4 separate regions of the Homo sapiens genome follow, and all the other regions are linked to region 4. Evidence: promoter capture Hi-C in 16 types of primary human blood cells and fetal thymus (Javierre and others, 2016). All regions are on one chromosome and are shown on one strand. Each heading gives the region's core, a stretch centred on a gene start or on the middle of the fragment in contact. The rest is flanking DNA. Distances are from core to core; before and after follow the strand shown. Region 1 overlaps LOC107985081 (a long non-coding RNA gene). Region 2 has its middle 120 kb from the start of LINC02074. Region 3 has its middle 140 kb from the start of LINC00469. Region 4 holds the start of SDK2 (sidekick cell adhesion molecule 2).

What was found. The method cuts DNA at HindIII sites, captures the fragments that hold promoters and counts their contacts. A CHiCAGO score of 5 or more calls a contact.
Region 1: a contact is called between a fragment that was not itself captured here and the fragment with the promoter of SDK2 in region 4, in 1 of 17 cell types (fetal thymus). The highest score is 5.1, in fetal thymus.
Region 2: a fragment that was not itself captured here is called in contact with the fragment with the promoter of SDK2 in region 4 in 6 of 17 cell types (naive CD4 T cells, monocytes, naive CD8 T cells and 3 more); the score reaches 7.6 in naive CD4 T cells.
Region 3: a contact is called between a fragment that was not itself captured here and the fragment with the promoter of SDK2 in region 4, in 6 of 17 cell types (M2 macrophages, M1 macrophages, naive CD4 T cells and 3 more). The highest score is 7.0, in M2 macrophages.

Annotation. Positions count from the first base shown.
Region 1 is chr17:73,923,848-73,926,774 of GRCh38, forward strand. All of the region lies in intron 2 of LOC107985081 (a long non-coding RNA gene), which reads left to right. LOC105371888 (a long non-coding RNA gene) reads right to left here. Exons shown (of 6, transcript XR_934962.2): 6 at 1,709-2,809. Among named protein-coding and RNA genes, the nearest start is that of LINC00469, 97 kb to the left of the region's middle. The HindIII fragment of the contact is 3,192 bases long and covers 1-2,927 here.
Region 2 is chr17:73,992,895-73,995,817 of GRCh38, forward strand. No RefSeq gene overlaps it. Among named protein-coding and RNA genes, the nearest start is that of LINC02074, 120 kb to the right of the region's middle. The HindIII fragment of the contact is 2,923 bases long and covers 114-2,923 here.
Region 3 is chr17:73,963,245-73,966,077 of GRCh38, forward strand. No RefSeq gene overlaps it. Among named protein-coding and RNA genes, the nearest start is that of LINC00469, 140 kb to the left of the region's middle. The HindIII fragment of the contact is 3,404 bases long and covers 1-2,833 here.
Region 4 is chr17:73,642,538-73,645,772 of GRCh38, forward strand. It overlaps SDK2 (sidekick cell adhesion molecule 2), which reads right to left and starts at 1,908. Exons shown (of 45, transcript NM_001144952.2): 1 at 1,488-1,908. The coding sequence starts at 1,551. It overlaps LOC124904054 (a long non-coding RNA gene), which reads left to right and starts at 2,937. Exons shown (of 2, transcript XR_007065893.1): 1 at 2,937-3,157. The HindIII fragment of the contact is 5,171 bases long and covers 1-3,235 here.

The DNA of each region.
Region 1 (2,927 bases), core at 94-2,593, 280 kb after region 4:
AGAAAACCTGGAGAGTCTAATGACCTTTAAAGAAATTGAATTATTAGATAAAAATCTTCCAGAAAAAAAAAAAAACTAGGTCCAAATGATTTATCAGCAATTTCTACAAAATGTTTTAGGAACTACTTTTCCAGGTCATAGAAAAAGAAGAAACCTGCCCCCATCAGTTTAAAAGATTAGCAAAATCTTAATTCCAAAACTTGACAAGGATGATATGGGCAAGAAAAATCAGTCTAATCTCATGCAAAAACTGCTTAGTAAGGATAGAATTGATCATTTTGCAGTAACAAATTTCAAAATGTCAGTGGTCTTGCACTATGGAGGTCTGGTTCTCTTCCATGTCACAGCCTGTTGCAGGACAGGCAGCTCCGCTCCAGGCAGTAACACAGGAACCCAGGCTGCTTCTCTTTTATGGCTATACCGCCTAGAACATGCGGCTTCCAAAGTTTCCACAAAAGGGGAAGTGCAGGCTGGAAAATCGTGGGATGATTTTAAGGTCCATGCAGAGAAGTGACTACACCATTGTTGAGGATTGACTTGTGTCCTCCAAAATTCAATTATTGAAGTCCTAACCCCGAGTACCTCAGAATGTGACTGAATTTGGAGATAGGGTCTCATGATGTTTTAAATTATTTAATTACCACTTTTAACAGGGTCTCACTATGTTTCCCAGACTGGTGTCAAACTACTGGGCTCAAGCAGTCCTCCCACCTCAGCCTCCTGAAGTGCTGGGATTACAAGCACGAGCCACCCCACCCAGCCCATAAAATATTTTTTATTTGTGACTTTTACATCTCTGTTCATGTGGCAGAAACCGCACAATGTGCTTAGCCCACCACTTCCTTTTCCTGGACATAAAGAAGTGGTAATTAAAATAAGTTCATAGGGGTGGGTGCTAATCCGATATGGCGGGTGTCCTTATAAGAAGAGATTAGGACACAGCTGTTCATGCATAGAGGAAAGACCATATGAAGACACAGCAAGAGGTCGGTCATCTGACAGCCAAGGAGAGGAGCCTCAGAAGAAACCAAATCTGCTGACCCTCTGATCCTGGACTTCCAGCTTCCAGAACTGTGAGAAAATTAACACCTATTGTTTAAGCTATTCTGTCTGTGGTATTTTGTTAGGGAAGCCCTGGCAAACTAATCCAATTATCATTCCCTTAGTAGGAACTCAGTCACATGGTCCCAATCTAACTGCAAAGGAGGCTGGCAGATTTGCTCTTCTTTATGTCCAGGACAAGGAAATGGTGGGCTAAGCACATTGTGTGGTTTCTGCCACATGAACAAATATGTAAAAGTCATGAACAAAAAATCTTTTATGGGCTGGGTGGAGTGGCTCATACCTGTAATCCCAGCACTTCAGGAGGCTAAGGTGGGAGGATTGCTTGAGCCCAGTAGTTCGAGACCAGTCTGGGAAACATAGTGAGACCCTGTTTTACAAAAAATAAAAAAATTAGCCGGGCTTTGTGGCACATGCCTGTAGTCCCAGCTACTCAGGAGGCTGAGGAGGGAGGATTGCTTGGCCCCAGGATGTCAAGGCTGCAGTGAGCAGTGATCACGTCACTGTACTCCAGCCTAGATGACATAGTGAGACCCTGTCTCAAAAAAAAAAAAAAAAAAAAAAAATTCATGAACCCATTAGAAATAAACCCAACAGAAAAATGAGCAAAAACATAAATAGGCATTTGCTAGAAAAGAAAGCAAAATGGCCCTTCACCATATGAAAAGCTGTGGCTCCCGGCTGCTACTCCAAGCGTGGCCTGCTTAGATCACAGTGGTATCCTTTGGGACATGTCTGTAATAAGGAAAATGAAAAGCAAAATCCTACAGAGATACCATCTCATACTTACCAGGTTGGTAAAATGTAAAAGTTTGTCAATACCAAGAGATGATGAAATGTGGGCCAACAGAAACTCTGGTCCTTCACTAGGGTAGAGTGGGAATGGGCATAACCATTTTGGAAAACAGTTTGCCTGTTCATTGTAAGATTTAATGCATGGTTACCTTAGGATCAACAACTCTACTTCTCAGTGTAAACCTAGGTACATAGAGCAGTGCTTATCAAACTCTAGCATGCATACAATTTTGCTAATATGCAAATTCTAATTCAGTAGATCTGGGATAGGACCCTGAAAATCTGCCACTGTTCTGAGGGCTACACTTGGAGTAGCAAACCTTGAGTTTCATAAATCCATATTCACAGCAATATTCATAATAGCTCAAACCCCAAATTTCCACCAGCAGTAGGCTGGGCAAATAAATTGCAGCATATTCATACACTGGAGTATTATTTAGAAGTGAGAATGAATGAACCACAAACACTCACATTAAAAATAGATGAATCCAACAAATATATTCTTGAGCAAAAGAAGCAAGGCACAGAAGAAAATATACAGTATGACTCCATTATATAAAGTTCAAAACTCAGGCAGAGCTAAATAATACCCAGGCACACCTAATTTTAGTGTGCTTCACAAATATTGCATTTAAAAAAAAAAATTAAAGGTTTCTGGCAACCCCGTGTCAAGCGAGTCTATCAGCATCATTTTTCCAACAGCATGTGCCCACTTTGTGTCTTGTTGTTATATTCTGATAATTTTCACAATATTTCAAACCTTTTCATCATTATATCTGTTATGGTGATCTGTGATCAATAATCTTCAAAGTCACCATTGTAATTGTTTTGTGGTGCCACAAACTGTGCCCATAAAAGATGGCAAACCTCATCAATAAATGTGTGTATTCTGCGTCCTCCACCGAGGAGCTGGTCCCTCATCTCTCTCCTTCTCCTCGGGTTCCCTTATTCCCTGAGACACAAAAATATTGAAATTAGGTCAATTAGTAACCCTAGGTGTTAGGGCAATTAATAATCCAAGTGTTCAAGTGAAAGGAAGAGCTGTACCTCTCCCATTTTAAGTCAAAAGC
Region 2 (2,923 bases), core at 325-2,824, 350 kb after region 4:
GTGTGTGTGTGTGTGTGTGCGCGTGTGTTTGTGTGTGTAGGGTATAGGTGAGCAGGGCTAAGAGACCGATGTAAAAGGAACAGCCCAAGGTCAAGGGCTGGGGGCCAGCAGGAAGCTTCCGTGGCACAGTCATGAATTCTAAATAAATGAAGCCCTCTAAGCATTTTTGTTCTTCTTTTCATCAGTTCTCAACCAGGGGTGACATTGTCCCCCAGACGACATTTGGCAATGTCTGGAGACATTTTTGGTTGTCACAACTGGGGGGTGGATGCTACTGGCATCTGGTGGGTACAGGCCAGGGATGCTGCTCTGGGATGCAGCATCCTACCGTTCACAGGTTGCCCCCTGCCCCCACCACAGAGAATGGGTGGGCCCCAGGTGTCAGGAGTGCTGAGAATGAGGGACCCAGCATTCTCTTCTCTTCTTTGGTCTTTCTTGCCTGCTTGTAACATGCACTTAGACCCTTCCAGATCCACAGGTGCAGATTGTCATGAATCCCAAAGACTAGTATGGGGTGACTCAGTCTACCCCACTGAGGTCAAGAAAAATAAGTGGATGGAACCCGGGAGGGATGAGAACACAGGGTGTGGGTGCAGCTGTGAAAATTTCGTGCTCATGATTTCACACACTCTCTTAATGTTCTTAAGAGCCTTTGGGGAGTAACCTTGGGACCCGCAAACACTTTGCCCCCTTCTCAGGTTCGGCAAGGCAGGGTTTGCCTGTAAAGTAGTAGGACAGTGTCTGGGGAGCAAGCTGCACTTTGACAATTGTGTGAGCTGAAAAGAGGAGGAGACAGAGACATCCTGGGGACAGAGGTGGCAGGGTACCGTCTTTGAAAGTTAAGGAGGTGTTTTCTCTTTGGAGCTCTGTCCACCACCCCAGACTCTTGAGACAAGTCATAGTTACAAAATGGCCACTTAGCATTTGTGGCCATCTCTTGGATGGATGTTGGGTTGACTTGAGGGTGTTCTGAGATGCTGTCCTGGTGGATCCACAGGTATGAAGCCCACCTCTCTGCATGGAGTACCACGGCCACCCATTGTCAATTGTCCAAGGTGGCAGTGTGACCTCAGACTGGACGTTGGAATACAGAGATGAGCCTCTGGCCTTCACCTCTTGGACCTTCCCTGGTTTGGACTCCTGATGGCAGGTTTGGACTCCTGATGGCAGATGCCAAGGTGATGTCACTACCTGGATCATGCTGGGAGGAAGATGGAAGAGGGCCCAAGAGCTTCAGAGAGCAAACCGTCGGCTGCAAGCTGGGTCACCTGGCTCCGGCAGCCATTTTTCTTTCCTTTGGGTTCCCCTGACACTGAGTACTGTTTTGACAAAATGTTCAGCAACCAAGTGTCCATGCATGACCTAGAGGGTTCAGGAGGGACAGCCAGCCTGAAGACTTTACCAATAGACCCAGCATGGAAGGAGGCTCTCAGAGGCTGGAGGGGAAGGAAGCCTGACTTCTCTCTGGACACACCATGCCTCCTCTATTGCCAGAGCATGAAGGGAAATGGTGGATCCTCTCCTAGTAATACTTGAAGTCTTTGTTATTTGGGATCATTTGATTTTTGACTCTTAAAAATAGTCCATAGGCCGGGTGCGGTGGCTCACGCCTGTAATCCCAGAATTTTGGGAGGCCGAGGTGGGTGTATCATGAGGTCAGGAGATCGAGACCATCCTGGCTAACACGGTGAAACCCCGTCTCTACTAAAAATACAGCAAATTAGCTGGGCATAGCAGCAGTCACCTGTAGTCCCAGCTACTCAGGAGGCTGAGGCAGGAGAATGGCATGACCCCAGGAGGCGGAGCTTGCAGTGAGCTGAGATTGTGCCACTGCACTCCAGCCTGGGCGACAGAGCGAGACTCCATCTCAAAAAAAATAATAATAAAAATAAAAAAAAATAAGAGTCCATGAGGACTGAAAATGGTAATGAGGTTACAGTGAAAGTGAGATTCCAGGACAGGCTAAAAAATCAAGAGAAAGAGACTGGAGGAGAAACCTCACCTCCTTTGTGGCTTTTCAGAAATGGCCTTTGGAAGCAGCAGCAACTCCGAGAATGAACTTGCTGGCCCCACCCAGCGATGGAGAGAACATCCCTTTCAGAGCAGAGATGCAGGATGGAATAGGTGAAGAGAGAAATACAGATTCCCTGAATATCCGTGTCCTCCCTCTTTTTTCAAGGACTCCAGTATCTCCTGGAAGCTCCTAGAAAAAGTCTGGCATTCATGTGAACTTAATCAGCAGAGACTCATTTACATAATAAGCATTCTGTGAACACTTACCATATACAAAGCACTGTGTCCCACAGCTAGCATAAGGCCTGGCATACAGTAAGTATTTAATATTTGTTTAGGATTTTTTTCTTTTTTTAGATGGAGTCTCGCTCTGTAGCCCAGACTGGAGTACAGTGGCACGATCTCAGCTCACTACAACCTCTGCCTCCTGGGTTCAAGTGATTCTCCTGCCTCAGCCTCCCTAGTAGCTGGGATTATAGGTATGCGCCACCACGCCTGGCTAATTTTTATATTTTTAGTAGAGACGGGGTTTCGTCATGTTGGCCAGGCTGGTCTCAAACTCCTGACCTCAGGTGATCCGCCCGCCTCAGCCTCCCAAAGTGCTGGGATGAGCCACCGCACCTGGCGTGTTTGGGAGATCTAAGGGTGACTGAGAGACTATCCCTGCAGCCAAGGATTTTATAAGCCAGACGTGCCGGGGAGTAATTCAAGGTGGAATGAAATAAGTACATTTCCTGGTGTTTCTTTGGTCTCAGCTGCTCATCTGGAAGTGAAGCAGAGCTCCCTGGGGACCAGAGAGTATAGAAAATTTCTTTCTTGAGTGGACCCTAAGAATGAATGGGGAGATTTCCCCAGAATAAACCAGCTCACCCTTCCTTTTCCCCTTCCGCGGAGCTGAGTCTAGGGAGCA
Region 3 (2,833 bases), core at 154-2,653, 320 kb after region 4:
CCTAGCATTGATCTTCTTTTTCAAGACTGGTTGGTTATTCTAGGTCTTCTGTTTTTCCTTATGAATTTTAAAAGCATATTATCAATTTCTATTTTATAAAAGTCTGGAGGAGTTTTGATTGGGATTGAATTGAAATATAATTGGGGAGAATTTACATCTTAACAATATTGAGTCATCTAATTCTTGAACATGGTATGTCTCTCCATTTATTACAGAGATAATTATTATAGAAATACAAAAATACATTATGGAAATTATTACAGAACCTGTCATTTGTCTCAATAGTATTTTGTAGTTTTATGTATACAGACCTTGCAGACCTTTTGATAAATTTATTTCTGCTATGAGGCTAGGAGCAGTGGCTCATGCCTGTAATCCCAGCACTTTGGGAGGCTGAGGCAGGCAGATCAGCTGAGGTCAGGAGTTTGAGACCAGCCTGGCCAACATGATGAAACCCCGTCTCTACTAAAAATACAAAAGTTAGCCAGCCATGGTGATGCACACCTGTAGTCTCAGCTACTTGGGAGGCTGAGGTGGGAGGATCACTTGATCCTGGGAGGCAGAGATTCCAGTGAGCTGAGATTATGCCGCTGCACTTCAGCCTGAGCAACAGAGTGAGACTCCAACTAAAAAAAAAAAAAAAAAAAAAAATGTATTTCTGCTATGGACTGAACTGTGTTCCCTAAAACTTCTCATGTTGAAACCTTAACTCTCAATGTGATTGTATTTTGAGATAGGGCTGAGATATAGGAGGTAATTAAGGTTAAATGAGGTCATAAGAGTAGGGTCCTAATCTGATAGGATTGGTGGCTTAAAAGAAGAGGAAGAGAGTTCATTCTCTCTCTCCATGAGCACAAACCTAGACAAGGCCATGTGAGAACACAATGAGAAGATGACCACCTGAAAGCCAGGAGGAAAGCCCTCACCAGAACCCCACCATGCTGGCACCCTGACCTCAGACTTCCACCCTCCAGAACTGTTAGAAAATAAATTTCTGTTGGTTAAGTTGCCCAGTCTGCAGTATTTTGTTATGGTAGCCTGAGCAGATTATTTTGTTTTTATTTTTTGAGAGACAATTTAGCTGGGTGTAGAATTCTGGGTAGTAGGTTCTTTTCTTTTCCTTTCAGCACTTTAAAGTTATTGTTCCCCTATCTTCAACCTCCTTTGTCTCTGATGAGATGTCAGGCACCATTAGTATCTTGTAATTGAATGTGGTGGTGTTTTTCTCTGTTTTCAAGAGTTGTTCCTTTGTCTTCAGATTTTAGCTATTTGATTATGACGGGCCTAGATGTGGTCCACTTTGTATTTATTCTACTTGGGATTCATTGAGCTTTTTGGATCTATAAATTCATCACTAGATTTTGGGGATTTTCAGTCATTATTTCTACAAATATTTTTCTGCCTGATTTTCTGTCCCCTCTCCTTCTAGTACTCCAATTACACATATTTTAGCTTGATATTTTCCACATATTTATGAGGTTCTGTGCATTTCTATTACTTTCTTTCTCTGTATTTTTCCACTGGATACTTTCTATTGACCTACCTTCAAGGTCACTGACTCTTTCTTCTTCCATTTCCAATCTACTACTGAATGATTCAAGGGATTCTTTTATTTCAGTTATATACATTTTAAGTGTAAAACTGTACTGCCCAATAATGTAATCACTGTGTGCCTTTTAAAATTCTAATTAATTTTTGGTTCATTCACAGCAGCTACATTTCAGGTGCTCAAGAGCCACATGAGGCTAGTGACTATTGTGTTAGACAGTGCTGATATAGAACAGTTCCATTGCTGCAAAAGTTCTTTGAACAGCATTACTCTAGAATTTCCATTTGGCTCTCTATGATAATTTCTATTTCTTTACTGTGATTTCTCATTTTGTATGTATTTTCCATATGTATATATTTTAAGTCTTTGAGCATATTTATAATAGCTGTTTTCAATTCCTTATCTACTAATTGCAACATTTGGATCATCCTGGGGTTGATTTCTACTGATGGGATTTTTTTTTTTTGGTAGAGGCAACATTTTCCTATTTATGTGTCTAGTGATTTCTGATTGGATACTAAACATTTTTTTTAAATACACTGTAAAGACTCTGAAGTCTGTTTTGTTTTTCTGTCAATTTATTCAGTCATGCAAGCCAATTGAGTATCTCAATCTCCAAAAATCATCTCCCCCTTGACCAGTAGCAACTAAAATCTCCACCAGTTTCTTCCACTTCCAGTTGCTTTTTTTTTTCCTGATCCTTATCATTATTATTAGACCAATATCATTATCAAATCCACCCAAAAAATTGTCAAGTCTCTTCTCAATATACATATCTTAGATGTGCCAAGAATTTGGGTGAATCTCATATGTATTTTGGGCTCTCCTCCTTTGAGGCACACTTCCTTCAAGTATTTCCTTCTTAACTTTTTTTTTTTTTTTTTTTGACACAGAGTCTTGCTCTGTCACCCAGGCTGGAGTGCAGTGGCATGATCTCAGCTCACTGCAACCTTCTGCGCCTCCTGGGTTCAAGCGATTCTGTGCCTCAGCCTCCCAAGTAGCTGGGATTACAGGCGCCCACCACCATGCCTGGCTAATTTTTGTATTTTTAGTAGTGATGGGGTTTCACCATGTTGGCCAGGCTGGTCTTGAACTCCTGACCTCAGGTGATCCATCCACCTTGGCCTCCTAAAGTGCTGGGATTACAGGAGTAAGCTACTGCACCCGGCCAACTTTCTTTCTTCCTGTCCGGAATGCTGTCCTCTGATACCTCAAGCCAATACAGTTGTAGCTTTCTACCACCTCAATTTATGCACAGATTTGGGAGTTCCAGGCAAAACGCTT
Region 4 (3,235 bases), core at 658-3,157:
ATGCAGCTAGTCCTGGTTTGAGGGAGAGAGGCTCAGAACTCATCTGGTTCCAGACCTGCCTCTGCCCCCAGATCACAGAGTGGCCTTGGGCAAGTCATTTAATGCCATTTGGCCTCAGTTTCCCTATCTGTTAAATGGCTACTAGAATAAGATGACCTCTGAGGTCCTCGCTTGTTCAAAGATTTTATGATGATCATAAAAATAATAACTTTTATTACCCTACATTTATAGGGCTCGTTACAAAATTTCGAAGTGCTTTTATGTAAATTACCTCGTAAAATCCTCCCCTCAGCCCTGTGAGTGAGAGCTGATTATTTTCATCTCTTTGATCTTGGCTCTCTGGATTGCCTGGCGCACGAGGCGGCGTGGGGAGTGGGTTGCAGCCCCCACAGTCCGGACCCCTAGGGTGGGTCTGGCCCCCTCCTGAGCCTGCGAGAGTGAAGGCCTAGCCCTGCGAGTCCTGGAGCTCGGTCCAGGCTTCGTCTCCCTCCGCCCCCAGCAGGCGCCGCTCGGACACCGCTGACACCACTGTCTGGATCGGCGAACCCCAAAGTCGAGGAACCGCCGGTGCAGCCGCCCTTCACCTCGGGGACCTGCCCGGGGACCAGGGGGACGTCTGGGCATCCACCCTCAGGAAGCGGGCAGCGCAGATCACACCTCGGATCCTTCGTAGCACTCCCAAACCCAAAGCCACCAGCCCTTCTCCACCGCGAGGCTGCTCCCGGCAGCCACAGGTCACAGCAGCGAGCGGCTGCACAGACTATCGAGCGAACAGCGGAGGCTGGAGGCAGGGGCGGGGATGCTGGGTGTGGGTGGATGGGTAGGAGGGGAGGCCTCAGACCCTCCCTGTGCACCACCCCCCGGTGGGTCCGCGGCTGCACCCGCGACCTTGGCTCCAGGCCCGCGCAGCGAAGCACCCCCAGCCCCAGCGGCTGGCCGAGCAGCCAGGGGCGGGCTCCCGTACGTGGCCAAGCCGGGCAATTGCTCTCCCCGGGCGAGCAACCCGGCATCCAGCGCTCGCCCACCCCACTCCCTCGCCCCGGGGAGGCCATCGCCTGCCCGGCAGGGGCCCTGCCCTTCCCCGCAGACACCGAGCAGGGAACCAGGAGCTCGGTCTGGGAAGCTCAGCGTAGCCGAGCGTGGAGCCCGGCACGGAATGTCGCTCCCCTCCCAAGCCGGCGCAGGGCAGCCACAGCAGACGGGGGGAGGGGAGCGCCCCTCCCACTTCACCTTGGGCTCTTCTCTGCCTCCCCAGGTCGTCCCCACCTTCCCCCATTCGGAAGCCACAAGTCTCGGAGAGACTGCCCCACCCCCAAAAGAGCCCCAAAACTTGGGAGATGGGGTGTCTTGAAACTCCCTGGAGAGGGCTCTGCCACGGCTAAGCCGGGTGTCCAGGAGGTCACCGTGAGGCCGGCCAGCTCCCGCCGCCCCTCCCCCGCCCACTCTCCCAGCCCCCTCCCTGTCCCCACGTGGGGGTCCCTCCTTACCTTGGGCTCTGGCCGCGCGGATCTGATGCAGAGCTAGCAGTGTCCAGATCAAAAGCCCCCACATGGTGACCAGCCTGGAGAGGGGTCCTCGGGGTCTCCCTTCCCTCCGCCCTGTTTTATAATCCTGGTGGGGTCCGATACCCCGTGGCTTAGTCCCAGGAAACAGTCAGTCTACGCGGCTCCGTGCCCCGGGGTGTAATATGCCCGGGAGGGGCAGCGCTTGGCTACCCCAACCCTTCCTCCTCTTCTGTACTAGTCCGAGCCCGGCAGCGCGCCCGGAAGGCGAGGGGCGAGCAGGGAGAAAGAGGCCAGGCCGCCCTCTCGGACTAGGGCGCCTCTCTCCCTTAGCACCCCAACTCCGACTTCTCCCAAACAGGGCGGCCTCTGCGATCCGGCCGGGTCGCCGGCCGAGCTCCGGAATAAATGGACAACTTCAGGAAACTTCCTCCCGTGGCCACGTTGCCCGCCCCCTCCCCGCCCCCTGGTTGGGTTCTCCCGGCCGACGCAGTCACCGCCGTTCCAGGCGCCGGGCCCCCGGGACCCGGCCAGAGCCGAGCGCAGTGGCAGACGCGGGTGCGGGGGTTCTTTTAGGGGCGCCGGTTTCGGGGGACGCGGTGAGCATAGCGGTCCGAATCTCCCTGGAGCTGAAGTTTTCTTCTCTCTAACTTTGCAGGCAGCATCTGGCGGGGCCGAACCACCCCCTCTGGGCTCCACCGCCCTCGCGCCGAATCGGGAGACGCCGGGTCTCCTCCGGGGGCGCTGGGGCCGGGCGCGCCCTCGGCTCCGCGCCCAGCCGGCTAGCAAACTTTGCGGGTCCCGGAGCCGGGCGCGCAGCCCTGAGCGCCCATGTCCGCGCCAGCCGCGGGGCGGCGGGGGAGGGTGCTGGGCTTCGCGACGCGGGCTGTCGCCGGCGCCCGGGCGCAGAGCCTCCTGCCGGCCCGAGGATGGAGACCGGCGGCTCTGCCCTCCGCCGCGCCCCGGCCGGAGCTCTCGGGAAGACGCACGGAGAGCCCGGCGGGCAGCCCCGGCTCCGGGGACGCGGCGCCCCTTCGGACGCCCGGCGATCGCCGACCTCCCGGGCCGGAGGAGCAACGGCCGCCCCAGCGCCTCGGCCGCCGCTGCCGCTCGCCGAGCCCGCCGCCCTCCGCTTCCCGGGCTCGGCGTCCAGAGAGCCGCTCCTGCCTGCGCCGAGCCGGAGCTGCGGGGGCAGCGTGAGCCGGGGACGAGCGCGGCGGAGGCGGAGACGCGGAGAGGGGGGCCGAGCGCTACCCCGTGGCCGCGACTGGAGAGCAGCCTGCGCGCCGGGAGGGGCGGCGGCGGCGGCGGCGGCCCCGAGCCAGGCCCGGGAGCGAGCCCCGCAGAAATACAATCCGACTGCGCGGCCGCGGGCGCCCAGCGGCTCTGGGACCCGCAGGGGGGCAGCAGTGCCAACCTTCTGCCGCGCCGGGAGAGATGCGCGCGAGCCCCTCCGCTCTCTGCCCAGCCTTTCCTTCCAGCCTCGCTCGCGCCCCTGTCTCAAAGGCCTCATAGGACTCCCAGAGTCTCCTATAGTCGGGAGCCCCCAGCCCCCTTCCGGACATGGAGTGATTGGTGGGGAGGCGGCGGTTGGGAAAAGGGGGTCGGTCAACCGATTGATTCCAGTTTCCCCTTCCCAAGTCAGGCTCTCCAAGGTCTGGAAATGCTCAGGGCGGAGGGGGAGACATCGGGAGGCCTGGGACCTGCAGAAGCCTGAGAAAGTGAAGTTGGTG